Linked DNA regions of Homo sapiens: all the other regions are linked to region 3. The links are contacts of gene promoters, found by promoter capture Hi-C in blood cells and fetal thymus (Javierre and others, 2016). All regions are on one chromosome and are shown on one strand. The core of a region is centred on a gene start or on the middle of the fragment in contact, and the rest is flanking DNA. Distances in the headings are between cores, read along the strand shown. Region 1 overlaps PCSK5 (proprotein convertase subtilisin/kexin type 5). Region 2 overlaps PCSK5 (proprotein convertase subtilisin/kexin type 5). Region 3 holds the start of PCSK5 (proprotein convertase subtilisin/kexin type 5). Region 4 overlaps PCSK5 (proprotein convertase subtilisin/kexin type 5). Region 5 overlaps PCSK5 (proprotein convertase subtilisin/kexin type 5).

The links. Contacts are between HindIII fragments. The CHiCAGO score rates a contact against its expected background, and 5 or more counts as called.
Region 1: a fragment that was not itself captured here is called in contact with the fragment with the promoter of PCSK5 in region 3 in 1 of 17 cell types (non-activated CD4 T cells); the score reaches 5.0 in non-activated CD4 T cells.
Region 2: a contact is called between a fragment that was not itself captured here and the fragment with the promoter of PCSK5 in region 3, in 2 of 17 cell types (fetal thymus and non-activated CD4 T cells). The highest score is 6.1, in fetal thymus.
Region 4: a fragment that was not itself captured here is called in contact with the fragment with the promoter of PCSK5 in region 3 in 1 of 17 cell types (non-activated CD4 T cells); the score reaches 5.2 in non-activated CD4 T cells.
Region 5: a contact is called between a fragment that was not itself captured here and the fragment with the promoter of PCSK5 in region 3, in 1 of 17 cell types (non-activated CD4 T cells). The highest score is 5.1, in non-activated CD4 T cells.

What each region holds. Positions count from the first base shown.
Region 1 is chr9:76,142,933-76,145,632 of GRCh38, forward strand. All of the region lies in intron 10 of PCSK5 (proprotein convertase subtilisin/kexin type 5), which reads left to right. Among named protein-coding and RNA genes, the nearest start is that of RFK, 250 kb to the right of the region's middle. The HindIII fragment of the contact is 2,168 bases long and covers 194-2,361 here.
Region 2 is chr9:76,031,111-76,033,810 of GRCh38, forward strand. All of the region lies in intron 5 of PCSK5 (proprotein convertase subtilisin/kexin type 5), which reads left to right. Among named protein-coding and RNA genes, the nearest start is that of PCSK5, 140 kb to the left of the region's middle. The HindIII fragment of the contact is 1,268 bases long and covers 637-1,904 here.
Region 3 is chr9:75,889,357-75,892,056 of GRCh38, forward strand. It overlaps PCSK5 (proprotein convertase subtilisin/kexin type 5), which reads left to right and starts at 1,317. Exons shown (of 38, transcript NM_001372043.1): 1 at 1,317-2,017. The coding sequence starts at 1,826. The HindIII fragment of the contact is 12,342 bases long and covers 1-2,700 here.
Region 4 is chr9:76,111,619-76,114,318 of GRCh38, forward strand. The region is part of intron 9 of PCSK5 (proprotein convertase subtilisin/kexin type 5); the gene reads left to right. Among named protein-coding and RNA genes, the nearest start is that of PCSK5, 220 kb to the left of the region's middle. The HindIII fragment of the contact is 1,877 bases long and covers 422-2,298 here.
Region 5 is chr9:76,086,822-76,089,521 of GRCh38, forward strand. All of the region lies in intron 7 of PCSK5 (proprotein convertase subtilisin/kexin type 5), which reads left to right. Among named protein-coding and RNA genes, the nearest start is that of PCSK5, 200 kb to the left of the region's middle. The HindIII fragment of the contact is 2,725 bases long and covers 17-2,700 here.

The sequences.
Region 1 (2,700 bases), core at 28-2,527, 250 kb after region 3:
TTCTCTTTTTCATAAGATTACTTGGATTTCAATAAACAATAAATGGCCTCAAAAGTGTTGGAAAAAGCATAATCTGCCAATGATTATGAATTATATTAATGTCATACACCTAACCTAAATAAAGCACAAATAAGTACAGTGAGAGGGTGAAAGATGTTTGAGAACTTGAGGGTTACCAAAAGTTGGGGAACCAAGCTTATCTGGAATACCGTAGTTTCTTTTAGTTTAAACAAATGCCTTCTTTTGTTTGTGTTTCTCGGGGACTGGAAATTATAACTGGAGGAGACAGCCATGGTGAAGGCAACAGGTCAGGGGAAGGGGCAAAAGAGAGGGCTCAGTGTACAAAAAGGACAGGTATGGTGTGATGAGGAAAGTAATCTAAAAGAAATCAAAAGCAAAGCTACTTGAATCCTGCAGTTAGGAGTTCTCATTTCATTTGAAAAACATTTTGGAGCCGCTGCGGTGATTGAGAAAGTGAGCTAGATGATAGTAATGACTTTCAAACAAGTTGATTCAAGTTGCTAGTCTGATGTCAAAAAGAATATTATTTCTTACACTGATGGTGCGAATCCATTGTTCCTATGATATGTCTTACAAAATGGCATGTGTGTAACAAACTGACTGGTTGAAATGAAATTGTCTTGCAGTGATCATTTTGTATTATCTTAGTATGCAATTATGTATTTGTGACCTTAAGACTGAGACATTCAGCGACATTTTTTATCATCTCTTGGCCTTCTTCTAAATGAGGAAAGTTGTAGATTTGGGATATATAATCATCTTTGCTACATCCCACTTTTTTTTTTTTTTTAAGAGAAAGAAGTGCTTTTTGAAATGACTCTTTAATAAACCCCGGGCAAAGGGTGTGGTGAGAAGATTGCTTCTTGAAAAATGTCAGGTCAGAAATTGTGCTTTGAGAAGCCTTCACATATTTCCTTTGTTTGACCAAAGTCTTTTCGTTGGTTGTTATTGCTCACCATGACTTCCGAAAAGCCATCTAACTTCCCATATTTGAATTTCTTTTTAGCATACAATTGCAGTCTTTGTATTTGCCATATAACTCCACAAACATTTAAAGAGAGCAAGTATACATAATTGTGGTTAGCATCTTGAGTTGCTGTACACCTATTATGCAAGCAGAATGACAGAAGCACTTAGGGTTTATAAATGACTTTTCCTCCTTCCGAAGTATTGTATTCATATTCTTTTTCTCGGCCCTGAAGCCAACTTAGAATTTTTAGTAGTCTTAAGAAGCTGTATTGTTTTTCTGAACCCACCGGAGGTTACAATGTATATGCTTTCTTAATATACTGTATGGGATGGTTTTGTCAGGAAATCATCCGCTTCTTTTCATGTTTTACCTTCAGAAGTATATTTACAGCCAAAGTAGAAGATATGTATCCAGCTTGGTTCCAAAGTGCAATTCTATGCATCTTAGAGGCCTAAAACTCCCACTGAATTGCAGTCACATATCATGAAAGAATCAGAGAAGATAGCTAAAAACATGAGAAATGTCTGATTGTTTGACAGAGCTGCCACACCTGGTTGCATAGGTTGTTAACTGCACAAGGGAGCCAAACTAAAGGGTTGAGTGGGTGGGGACAGAAATCTGGCCTTGGATCCAGTCACCAAGGAATGTGCCCTGCAGTGGGATGATGTCCACCTTAAGGAAAGAGGTACCTTTCTCTAATCGACAGAAGTCCCACATGGGCATCCCTGTTGCATGGAATTCTGTTGTGATTTCTTCCAGAGCTAACAAAGGCACAGGTATCTTTTAAGAAGTATGCATCCAGAGATGGTTCTGTTCATTTTAATCTGCAGCCATTGCTTCAGTCTTGATACCCACAGAACCTGTTTCTTCATTGGCAAAATAACTCAGTGTTACTAGAGTCAAATAAAATTTTGCAATAGCTGGCCAGGAGTGGTGGCTTATGCCTCTAATCCCAGCACTTTGGGAGGCCGAAGTGGGCGGATCACGAGGTCAGAAGTTCAAGACCAGCCTGGCCAACATGGTGAAACCCCATCTCTACTAAAAATAAAAAATTAGCTGGGTGTGGTGGTGGGTGCCTGTAATCCCAGCTACTCAGGAAGCTGAGGCAGGAGAATCGCTTGAACCTGGGAGGCAGAGGTTGCAGTGAGCCAAGATTGTGCCGCTGCACTCCAGTCTGAGCGACAGAGCAAGACTCCATCTTAAAAAAAATAAGATTGCAATATCTGTGGCTATTTCATCACTATCTTTATCACCAGCTCTCTAAACAAAGTTTGAAGTAAAATCTCAGACTCTTAAGTGATCATAAGTGCCAAGCACAAATCTATAATTCTTTTCAGGTACTTTTTTTTACATTCAACAAAAATGATGGAAGCTTCATGAATTCAAATGTATGATTCTTTCATTTGAGTTCCAGTAGAAGTTTCATATTTGGGGTGGAGTGCTTGTAAACATTGGCATATGTTGGATACGTGAGCCCAGAGCAGCGGTGAAAAGGCTTCATTTGAAGTCTTCCATGATTATCGTCAACCTGTCTTGTGAAAATACCACCTCCCCCCCAGCTCATTTTTTCTACCAAGGCATAGAGCTTTAAATGTGAAAGGAATAAACTGTGATTGAGGTAAACAGGAGAAACTCTCTTATTGAAATTAATACATGCATATCAGTTTGGATTCTGGCATCAGATATTCCTAGCACAGACTGCAGCACCA
Region 2 (2,700 bases), core at 21-2,520, 140 kb after region 3:
CTCAGCTGACCAAGAGCATGTAGTCAGGCATTTAGGATTAAAATGCCCTCTTTGCTCATTAGACCATAATAATGGATATGATCAATGGATCTATCTTTAAGCATGAATCCACAGATAGATAACTCTGTTTGGATAGTGGCCACCTAGAGTTAGGAAATGAGTAGCTTTGTAGTTTAGAGAAGTTGACTTTTAGCCTTGGCTCTCCTTGATTATCTTTATGGTCTTTTGAGCTAACAACTGAGCTTTCAGTACTTTCTAAAAAGTCTCTAGAATGGGCATAATAATACTTCCCTCTAGGCTGGGCACAGTGACTCACACCTGTATCCCAGTACTTTGGGAGGCCAAGGCTGGAGGATCACTTGAGTCCAGGAGATTGAGACCAGCCTGGGAAACATAGGGAGACCCTGTTTCTACTAAATACATAAATAAATAGCCAGGTGTGGTGGCATGCACCTGTGGTCCCAGAAACTTGGGAGGCTGAGATAGAAGGATTGCTTTAGCCTAGGAGGTCAAGGTTGCAGTGAGCCAAGATTGTGCCACTGCACTCCAGCCTGGGCGAAAGAGCGAGACCCTGTCTCAAAAAATAATAATAATAAAATACCTCTAAAGATTATCAATAAAATGTGTAAAATACCAAGCTTACTACATAATAGATGCTACATAATTACAGTTGTTATTATTATAATTGTGTGTTCTATTCATATATCTAATTCTTGATAAATAACTAGTTAAAAATTACAGTTATCTCAAAATATGTGTGCCTATGAACACTTCAAATTTAAATTAAGACTTGGGGTTTATTTCCGGAGTTAGAAGTTGAGATAGGTTTGTCTGCGTCCTTGGGGGACTTAAGGTTTATTTCCAGGGTTAGAAGTTGAGATAGGTTTGTCTGCTTCCTTGGGGCTGGGAGCTGTGGCTCTTTTCCGTCTACAGTAAATCTGCTTTTCTTTAATTCCATTTTCCCATCTCCCTTAGTAGAGCATGAGTCCTTGAATTTGATATAAAATAGTGAAGGTGAGGAATTTGTAATTATCATCAGAATAAGGAAGTTGAGGCATGTGCTATGCAAATGCCTCCTCACTGAACAATCAGACCAGTAGGCTTCAGAACATATTTGGAATTATGTCATACTTGCCTGCGTTTGTTTATTCATTCAAGCAGTATTCATTAAGACGCTGCTTGGCGAGTGGCTCTGTGCTAAATACCTGGGGAATCAATGATGAAATAGTATAGATTATTAATGGGCTGAATTGGGAGAAAATTTAGTAAGAAACTCTAATGCCTGAAGGGTTTTTAGTACTAACAGAGGATCTAGCCTCAAAACTATGCAAATCATCTCTTAGACTTGCATGATTACATTTCTAGTGCCAAGGCTTTGGAGTGAAGGAAATCACCTCTGAAGTACAAAAGTTATAAAAATCCCTTTCTCGTCACTTTTGCAAGTTCCCAAATGGTGGTATGTCAGACTTAAATAACTGATGCTAAAGAAATAGCGTGATTAGAGGAGATCATAAAAACCCATCCTTCGATTCAGCTTTGCCTCCATTCATATTAGCTTGCCAAATAAAGCTGACTGCATTGTTCTAGGCTTAAAATAGAAAATGCCTCCCTGCAAATGAAACAGTCTGCTAGCATTTCATACTACTACTCCTATTTCCAATAAAATGAATTATTGATGTCTGAGTTATATCAGCCCCTCCCTAGGTTACTTCCTTTTAGAAGTTCTCTGCTTAAAAGTCACAGCAACATTTAGCAGGAGTTGAAACCACAGCATTATATTTTGAACGAGCGGTATGTGGGCCCAGAGTCTAATTCCTTTTCAAAATAAACCAACCTCTGGGTTAAAGACTTGTTTTCTAAAAGGAATAGATTTTTCATGTTGTTTCTTATCTCTGATTCAAGGAAGCTTTAACCAGGGTGAATGGAAGTGAATTTCGTCTAGTTCTTTAGTTTCTTGTCACACATCATTTCTGGTTTTACGAATGTTGCCATGTTGCAGAAACCAAAATGTGTCCTTCCCTTTCCCATTTCTGTAGACAAGGACTGTTGTGAGGAGATAGTGTTCCAAAGCAACCAAAAGATATAGTCAGCATTTTCCGCATATAGGGGAAATATGTTAACTTATTATAATAGTACTAGAGGAAAAAAACACACTGTAAGTCTGTGGCCTTAACACGTACAAACATTTTTTCTTTGTACCAAGGATTTGGCCAAATATGTTAAGATAAAGTTTTCCTATAGCTTAGTAGGTCAGACAAAACTTAACGAAGAAAATGAGGGTCAATATCAGAGGCTGATTTGATTTTCAAATATTTTCAAATTTTTTTCTCTAATACTTTTGCAAAATAACATCTACAGTATACTACATAGTAGATACTTGATCAATGATTATCAAATGAATTTACATAACGTGGACTACAAGTGTACATGTACATTACTAGAGGCTTAATGTATACCAAACATGCAATTGTGGAAAAAAAAAAAATCTGACACTTTCCATATACAGCTGTCTTAGTTCAGGCTGCTATCACAAAATAACTTAGACTGGGTAATTTATAAGTAATAGAAATGTAATGCTCAGTTCTGGAACCTGGGATCGAGGCACCAGCCATTTTGTTGTCTGCTGGGGGCTCAATCCTCATGAGATGGTGCCTTCTTGCTGTGTCCTCACATGGTAGAAGGGACAAACAAGCCCCTCAG
Region 3 (2,700 bases), core at 67-2,566:
TCTTCTGATCTTCTATTTCTTCAGCTATAATGTGGGGATGATGTTATTTTGTGGGTTTGTTTTCAAGATTAAATAATATAGCATACCTTATACAATATGTAAAATGTCAAATGCTATGCTCAAAGGTACTAGTGGAATTTTAAGTCTGCAGGTATCTTTCAGATTTTAAAAAATCAGTACCAAAAGCTATAGGTGGGATGAGTTAATTAATCTCAAACACATTTAAATTAACAGGAAGAAAGAAATAGGGCATGGTAGGAGGAGAGAAAGGAGGACAGTTAGGGATATAGTGAATACTTTTAAAGTCAGTTGAATTATTTCATACGGGATAATTTTTCTTGTCACAGTAAATCACCCTGTGCCCCACCCCCGCTCCAGGAAGGCAGGGAGGTTGTAAAGGAGAAGCGAGAAGAGGGTTAATTTGAGCTCCCTCCTGCCTGCTGCAGTCACAGTGCATGATAGAGTAATGAAGGTGACGCCGCCACATATCTCATCTGAACTTCCTCTGTGGTCTTTTTCATATTAAAGTCTTTCACTGTTACAGGACTGTGCTTGGAAAAGTTGGGAAACTTTTCCCTTGGTGGAGAAAAAGAAGCCCTCGTCAGACGCAATCCAACAAATGAATGGAGTTATTTCCTTGGCCCAACATGTCCATCCACTAGCACACCAAATATTCATAGAAACATCTTTCCTCACTTCCAAGGCCGGAATTGTACTCTCCCGTGGCGTTGCCTAGTATCGCAGATTTCGAAAGTGAGCAGGCAACAGACTTGGCTTTCGAGCCAATTCTAGGAGTCGATGCGACTTACTGTCCTGTGTGGTAGCTTCTCCCGGGAGCAGAAAGTGTAAAATAAACAGCTGCTGAAAAGCATGAAGAATTAACGAAGTGAAAATCTCGAGTTATTTGTTCGGCAATTGACACGTAAGTGACCTCCTTAAATGCCTAGTTATTTAAGGACGTTTAGAACGAGGATGAATGAATCTTCAGGGCGGTTAATTCGCACCGGCGTGTAAATTTCTTTAGTCTTTCGGGAAGTGGCGGTAAATTCATACAAATCCAGCAGGGAGGGAAGAGAAGGGAGTAAAACCACGATCTCGGAGCGCTCTTCTCAGTCCTTTGGAAAGACTTGCCTTTACTGCCCGGAACCCTGGAGGTTACAGCTGGGCGAACCCGGAGGCGCTAGGACCTCGTCAGCGCCTGGCTGCGGCCGCTTTCAAGAGGGCGGAGGAGGGAGAGGAGGAGGGCGATGTGGGAAAGGAGGGGTGTTAAGGGGGGCGGGGGAAGTCATTTATGCAGAGCAGGAGCTGCTGCCATTGCCACTCAGAATCCTCGCGCGCTGCTCGGAGCCGGAGGGAGCGCTGGGAGCGAGCAAGCGAGCGTTTGGAGCCCGGGCCAGCAGAGGGGGCGCCCGGTCGCTGCCTGTACCGCTCCCGCTGGTCATCTCCGCCGCGCTCGGGGGCCCCGGGAGGAGCGAGACCGAGTCGGAGAGTCCGGGAGCCAAGCCGGGCGAAACCCAACTGCGGAGGACGCCCGCCCCACTCAGCCTCCTCCTGCGTCCGAGCCGGGGAGCATCGCCGAGCGCCCCACGGGCCGGAGAGCTGGGAGCACAGGTCCCGGCAGCCCCAGGGATGGTCTAGGAGCCGGCGTAAGGCTCGCTGCTCTGCTCCCTGCCGGGGCTAGCCGCCTCCTGCCGATCGCCCGGGGCTGCGAGCTGCGGCGGCCCGGGGCTGCTCGCCGGGCGGCGCAGGCCGGAGAAGTTAGTTGTGCGCGCCCTTAGTGCGCGGAACCAGCCAGCGAGCGAGGGAGCAGCGAGGCGCCGGGACCATGGGCTGGGGGAGCCGCTGCTGCTGCCCGGGACGTTTGGACCTGCTGTGCGTGCTGGCGCTGCTCGGGGGCTGCCTGCTCCCCGTGTGTCGGACGCGCGTCTACACCAACCACTGGGCAGTCAAAATCGCCGGGGGCTTCCCGGAGGCCAACCGTATCGCCAGCAAGTACGGATTCATCAACATAGGACAGGTAACGAACTACAGGCTAGCCCAGCCCTCGGCCCTGAAGCCACTGGGGGCTTCTTGTCCCCTCTGCGTGGAACCCCCTCCCCCTCTTCCAGATGTGCTCTAGCAGCTGTTGCCCTAACTCTTGGGCGATGCTCTGTCTCCTGCGCGCGCGCGCGTACGCACACACACACACACACACACACACACACACACCCCAGAGTTGCCGGGTCCGTGTTTTGTTTACTTGTCTTTTCCAAGCCACGCGGGACTGGTAGGGTCTCGGGAAAAATCCAGAGTGCCCCCGTGGTGGCTTCAGAGACGGCTGGACCTTTTGACCTGAAAAGTCGAGTAGCACTAGTAATCTGAGGCAGTCTCAGAGAGGGTGATCGTGGGGAGAGGGGGAAATTAGGTCTTTTGGGGGATAGGGGGTGAGCGCGCCTCTGATGCCTGCGGGGAAGGGAAAGCCTTTCCTGCTCGGACCTGAATTTAGCCCAGAAAGAAGTTTCCTCTTGGGCGAGAGAACCTCTGGCGCTGGAGACTCCGGAGGCGCGGGGACTGGAGCTGGAAGGGAGGAGAAAGGAGGGGGAGGGAAGAGGGGGCCGGCCCCGGTGTGAGTGCAGATTTAGGGGAGACCTCTAGGCTTTCTCGCCTTAAGCGAGGTCCGCGTGGGGGCTCCCGGAAGGGAGTTGTAGTGGGGAGGTGGGA
Region 4 (2,700 bases), core at 110-2,609, 220 kb after region 3:
TAAATGAATAGGGAACATGTAACCAGTGATTATAGGATATCATTTGGGCGATTGCTGCTTAAAATGATGTCTTTTTACATAGCCTAACTCAAAAAGTTCAAATAAAATGAGTATGCAAGGAAGCAGGTTTATTAAATGAAAAACCAAAATGAAAGATGGCTGTACTAATTTTAGCTTAGCAACCTGGCAGAACACCTTATGTTTGAAAAGTGTTTTGCATCTAGGTCCTAGTATATGTTCCCAGTGCTATAGATCTATCAGGGGGAAAAAAATAAAAGAGCTTGCTGTTAAATGATGTTTTCTATAAAATTGTTTATAAAATAAAGTCAAAATAACTAACATTCATGAAAGTACAGAGTGCTCAGAATAATAAGTTGTACTGAAAGTTTTCCTCACCCATCTGCAATTATTAGCAATGAAAAGCTTATTTTAGTGGAATATTTCATATGTAACAATATCAGCATCAACTCAGAAAATACAAAAATTAAGTTCATCAAAGAAACCTTTCTGCTTCTAATTGCAAAGGGTCTTTCATTGGAAAATTGAAGAATATATGTTCAGTAATCAAGAAATGTTACACTATACAGTGAATGGTAAATAAAGGGGACTGAGTCAGGTTGAAACTTCTGAAATTATCTAAAACTTCCTAAAAGGGTATTGGTATAAAGAATCTCGTACAAATTCTTGCTTTAAATGACCGCAAAGCCTTTTTCTTACATTTCATATCTCAGAGGCCACAAGAATACCCTGCTGTGAGAAAACCCAATATATCTAGATCTAAATTTAGAAAATAAATTAAACTAACAGCTGCTCTTCTACAGTAGAAATACACCTGGTGCATATTGAACATTAGCTGCCTCTGGTATCTTATATATACACAGACATATACACATTCACATGTTTCTAGGTAGGCTCACCTACTTTCTCCTTATTACTTATCTTTTCCCTCCTATTGCAAATTAAATTTAAATTCCTTGAGAGTAAGGATTATATCTTATCTTTATTTATGAGTATATAACAAATATATTGAACACTACAAAAAAATTAAAGCATCATACTAGGCACTAAGTTACTCAGGACATAATTCAAATATGTATAAAATATTATATATCACTTGCTTTCAGGGGATTTTATATTCTCATTAGGGAAGCAAATGTACACTAACAGATATATGCAAATTATTTAAGGAAGTCAATGAAATCGTTCTGGGGGAAGGGTTGTAGGGGGTGCAGGACTTGGATGAAAATAAAAATGCCCAGCTTTGATGATTCAAATTGGAACATTGGTTCCATAGAAATTTGTATCCTCCACGACACCTAAGCATAATGTTTTGAACAAGGTCCATTCTCAACAAATATTAAATTAATTCGTCTAGTCCAACCTTACCTTTTGTACAATGGAACTGAGTCCTAGAGAAGTTCAATTGCTCAATTAGTTACTTTTACCGTCCATATCCTTTAGTTGATATTCATTAGTGACTTCTTTCTCCCATACTGCCTCAACTCGTCTCTCATCCTGTTGATTTATCATTTGCTAGAAGTGGACCTCACCTGGCTAAAATAAAGACATGAATGTTATTCCCTCTCTCACCTTCCAAGGGAATCCCCTCTACCTTTTGTCTTTGGAGGAAGGGATCATTCGAGACAAGGAAAGGTCAAAGTGTGAGAAGTTAAAGGAGTGTTGAGCCAAAGGATGATTCACACCGTATGCTGTTGATTTCACAAATCACATCTTGAAAATTTTCTCAGGAAATTAAACTGACCATCTGCATTTCTTGTAAACCTAAAAAGTCCGTCTATATAAATCTTACATAATTCAGATGAATCAACCACTCTATGTCTTTGTTTCACCTTTCATTATAATCTCTCTTACCTACATGTTTCCAGCGTTGGAAAATTGTAGGGAAATGACCAGAATATTTGGGATACAGTGACTGTGAGAAGTTAATATGTGGGACAGTCGAGAAGGGTTCTGGAGTTTTAAACAAGCCAGCTCTGAGTTGAAGTACTCACTGGGGCGAGGGGTGCTTCATATTTTTAGAACTGAGCACTGTTAAGGGAGGCCACATAGGAAGGATAGACATAAACATTTCTTAATATTGGGGTTAGCATCTTAGTACTGATATCCTGTAAACTAGTCTTATCATCTGTGTATTTTTTTAAATTAAAAACACATTTTAGTATAAAATGTCTCATTAAAAATTTTCCCGAGGGCCACATTCAACTCTATGAGATGCTGCAGTGGGCAGGGAGCACAAGTGTATTTGCTTATTGAGGTAAAATTGCAGAGGGCATACCAAGCTTTTCCTTTTAAGAGAGTTTTATTTATTTCAATTAGAACTTAGAAAGTACTTGCACAGAGAGAAATACAAGCATATGTGCCCTGATTCCACACAGTTACAAGGGTAAAGAAGCAGGTATTCCACACACCCTTCCTTTCATATACTCTTAGAGTTTTTTTGTGTATTGGAGTGTTGTATGTTGGGCTTAAAATTTTGCTGAAATTTCTGGTATGAATGCTTGGGGTATACAGCCTGAAGAGGGTGAAGAGAATTAAAAGAAAACAAGGGAGGAGAGCTGAAAAGGTTTATAAGGTAAAAACAATGCACATTTCGACTTGAGGCCTAGCGGACAGAGAAGGGATGTACTGTCCTGAACTATTCCCTATAGTGAAATAATTGTAACCAGACCCAAAGAGCAG
Region 5 (2,700 bases), core at 129-2,628, 200 kb after region 3:
AAATTATACTGAATGAAGCTTTTATGTGTCCAACTTTACATAATATCCATAGGACATTATTCAGCTCCAAAATTGTATTATTTGAAGTTCCTGAATATACAGAATATCTAAAGGTTCATCAAAATAGAATTCTTTGTATGAAAGCATATTTATTTCCATTGGTAAACACACCCAGTTTTTATTTCATCACACGTATTCTACTATTCTTTCTCCATGTAAGACTGATTTTCTTCTTCCAGTTATACTGTGAAAATAAACAAAGTAAAAGAAATCTACACAATTGTGATATTGCTGTCAGGAGCCAAGGGTCACACCAACTTGTACACTGTTTTGATAAAGTTAAGAAGCAGTGTTAAGTGTGTAAATCCTCAGTGTCAATCAACCCTTATGAAGAAAGGGCATCTCCGATAAGGAAATTGATTCTACTAAGCCTTTTGTGAGTTGATGTTCTACCAAATTTATATTCTAGCAGATATGGTGGATAAGTAACTCAATTTTTTTCTTTCTATTCACACAATAAACATAAAATTAGCTAATGATAGGGTTGTAGGCAAGTTCTGTATTTGCAGCACTGATTCATTGTCCTTGACACTAGTCTTTGACCACCTTACTCACCATTTCCAAGTGTCACTTTAGAAAACTGACCTGAAGTCCCTAAATTCAGTGCAACGTGCTCTCCATTCATGGACTAGGATATGAACAATATCATGACTAAAAGTAGCTTATAAATGGCACTTAAAATTTTGTCATTTACAGTTGATCCTATAGTCATTATTAGGCTCTCTATTTTTTTGAAAGTGAGGTCGGCTGCATTTGATATGCTCAGGAAGCACAGAAAATGGATTTTCATTTGTGAATGGTAAAATTAATATGATTGCTAATAACTGCATCTGATAACTTCAGTGCATCATTAAAAAGTCAAAAGAACATTAAAAATTTCTTGGTTTAGTGACCTATTGTGTGCACAGAAAATCATAATACGGACTACCTGGTATGGGGCTGAAAAGATAGATTGGTGAGGTTCAGATGTGGAGGAAGAGGAGGGAGTGAAGTCATGTCGCATAAGAAATGGCAAGAAGACAGAAATGAGCAGAAATAGGTTACTATCCACAAAAGCCTTCTTTGCTCCATTTTTCTCACCAGAGAAGTAGAAAATAACTGCATTTGTATTTCCCATCTCTCTCATCAGCCATCTTTTGAGTGGCTAAGTAGCATAGAATGTGAATAATGAAGGTACTCCCATACAGTGTTGTCTGGAAGCCAGTCTGAGGATGTTTAGACAGCCCTTCCTTAGAGTGTCTCTTAGGCTGCATGTGTGGGTCTGGCAGCTGACAGGCTAAAGCAGGTGCGTAAAGATTGAGACCAGTAGCAGGGCCAGGAACTGGGCTGCTGGAAGTGCTGGACATCAGCAGGTGCTGGTGGAGACCACTCACTGGTTGTTGGCTGGTTGCTGAGATCAGCTTTAGGGAGCTGTTGCTTTCCATTGGTAAGCATTTTTAATCCTGGAATTTTTGCTTGGAAACAAGTGGAATTAATGAACTGTTTCCTTTACTCAAATCACCAAATAAATAAAGCATAATTAATGAGCGTTTGCTTTAAAATACATATAATAGTTCCTCTGTTTACCTTAGTTATTCTGAGAGCACAATTATGAAATATTCGAAGTGTAGAAGCAGAACAAGAGAAACCTGGATACTCTCTACATTGCATTGGACAAAACATCTCATATTGTCTCATTCAAGTTACTTGTGGATTTTTTGAGGGGATGGATGATCTTATTCCCTGAGTCTTAACTCGATTCCATATAATTAATTTCCCTAACCTCAGCTCCATCTTACTCGGATGAACTGATTGAAAAAACAAGTCTGGGGCTTAAGTAAGCTCTTATCCCATAGATGTCTTCATACACCTTTACCACGACTACATTATCTCTGTGCATCACCAAGAATGCTTTCTCCCACCAAGTTATGATAAATGTTATCAAAAAGTTATTTAAATTGCTTAAAGAAGCAATATGTTTCAGAATTCTGGAACAAACGTTTTGTGTGAGTGCTACAAAAAACAGTAGTTTTTAAAGGGGGTTTTGGTGGTGTTCGTGAGGTTTTTTAATTTTTTTTTTTTTTTTTTGGTCTTTACATTATGTTTCTAGATGAGATCTATTTCTTTCAATGAACGCTGTTCTATAAAGCAACAAGATTTATTTCGGAAATGCTAGTCAGAATGTCCTTGAGCTTTAAAAATAGGAACAGTTCTTTATTTCTTAGCTACTAAGTCATTAGTAGTAAGTGTCCTTGTCTCTCTCCAACTTCTTCCCCTTATCCCTGGATCCCCCTTTATCCAGGTAATATGGAGTACGGAATAACCATGGCATAAAGAGCTTACACAGAGGACTGTGCTCTTTTCTCCCCGAGAGGAAGAATATCAAAAAAGATGGGGAGTGGAATGACAAGGGGCTTTGATAAGTTGGGTATTGAGGCGGTGCTTGCGAGACATCACGGATGAGTGGAAGTGCCTCATTCCAAAGTTGTTTTGTTGTGTCTCTTCAAGTCGACATATACAGATCCAGAGGTTCTGATCAGATGCAGGGTCTCGACCTCTTGTCTCTACCACGTCCTAGTTATATGATACTGGGCCTATTACTTAATGTTATCAGTTTCCTAATATGGAACAATCCATTTAGTGCTATCTACTTTGCTGATG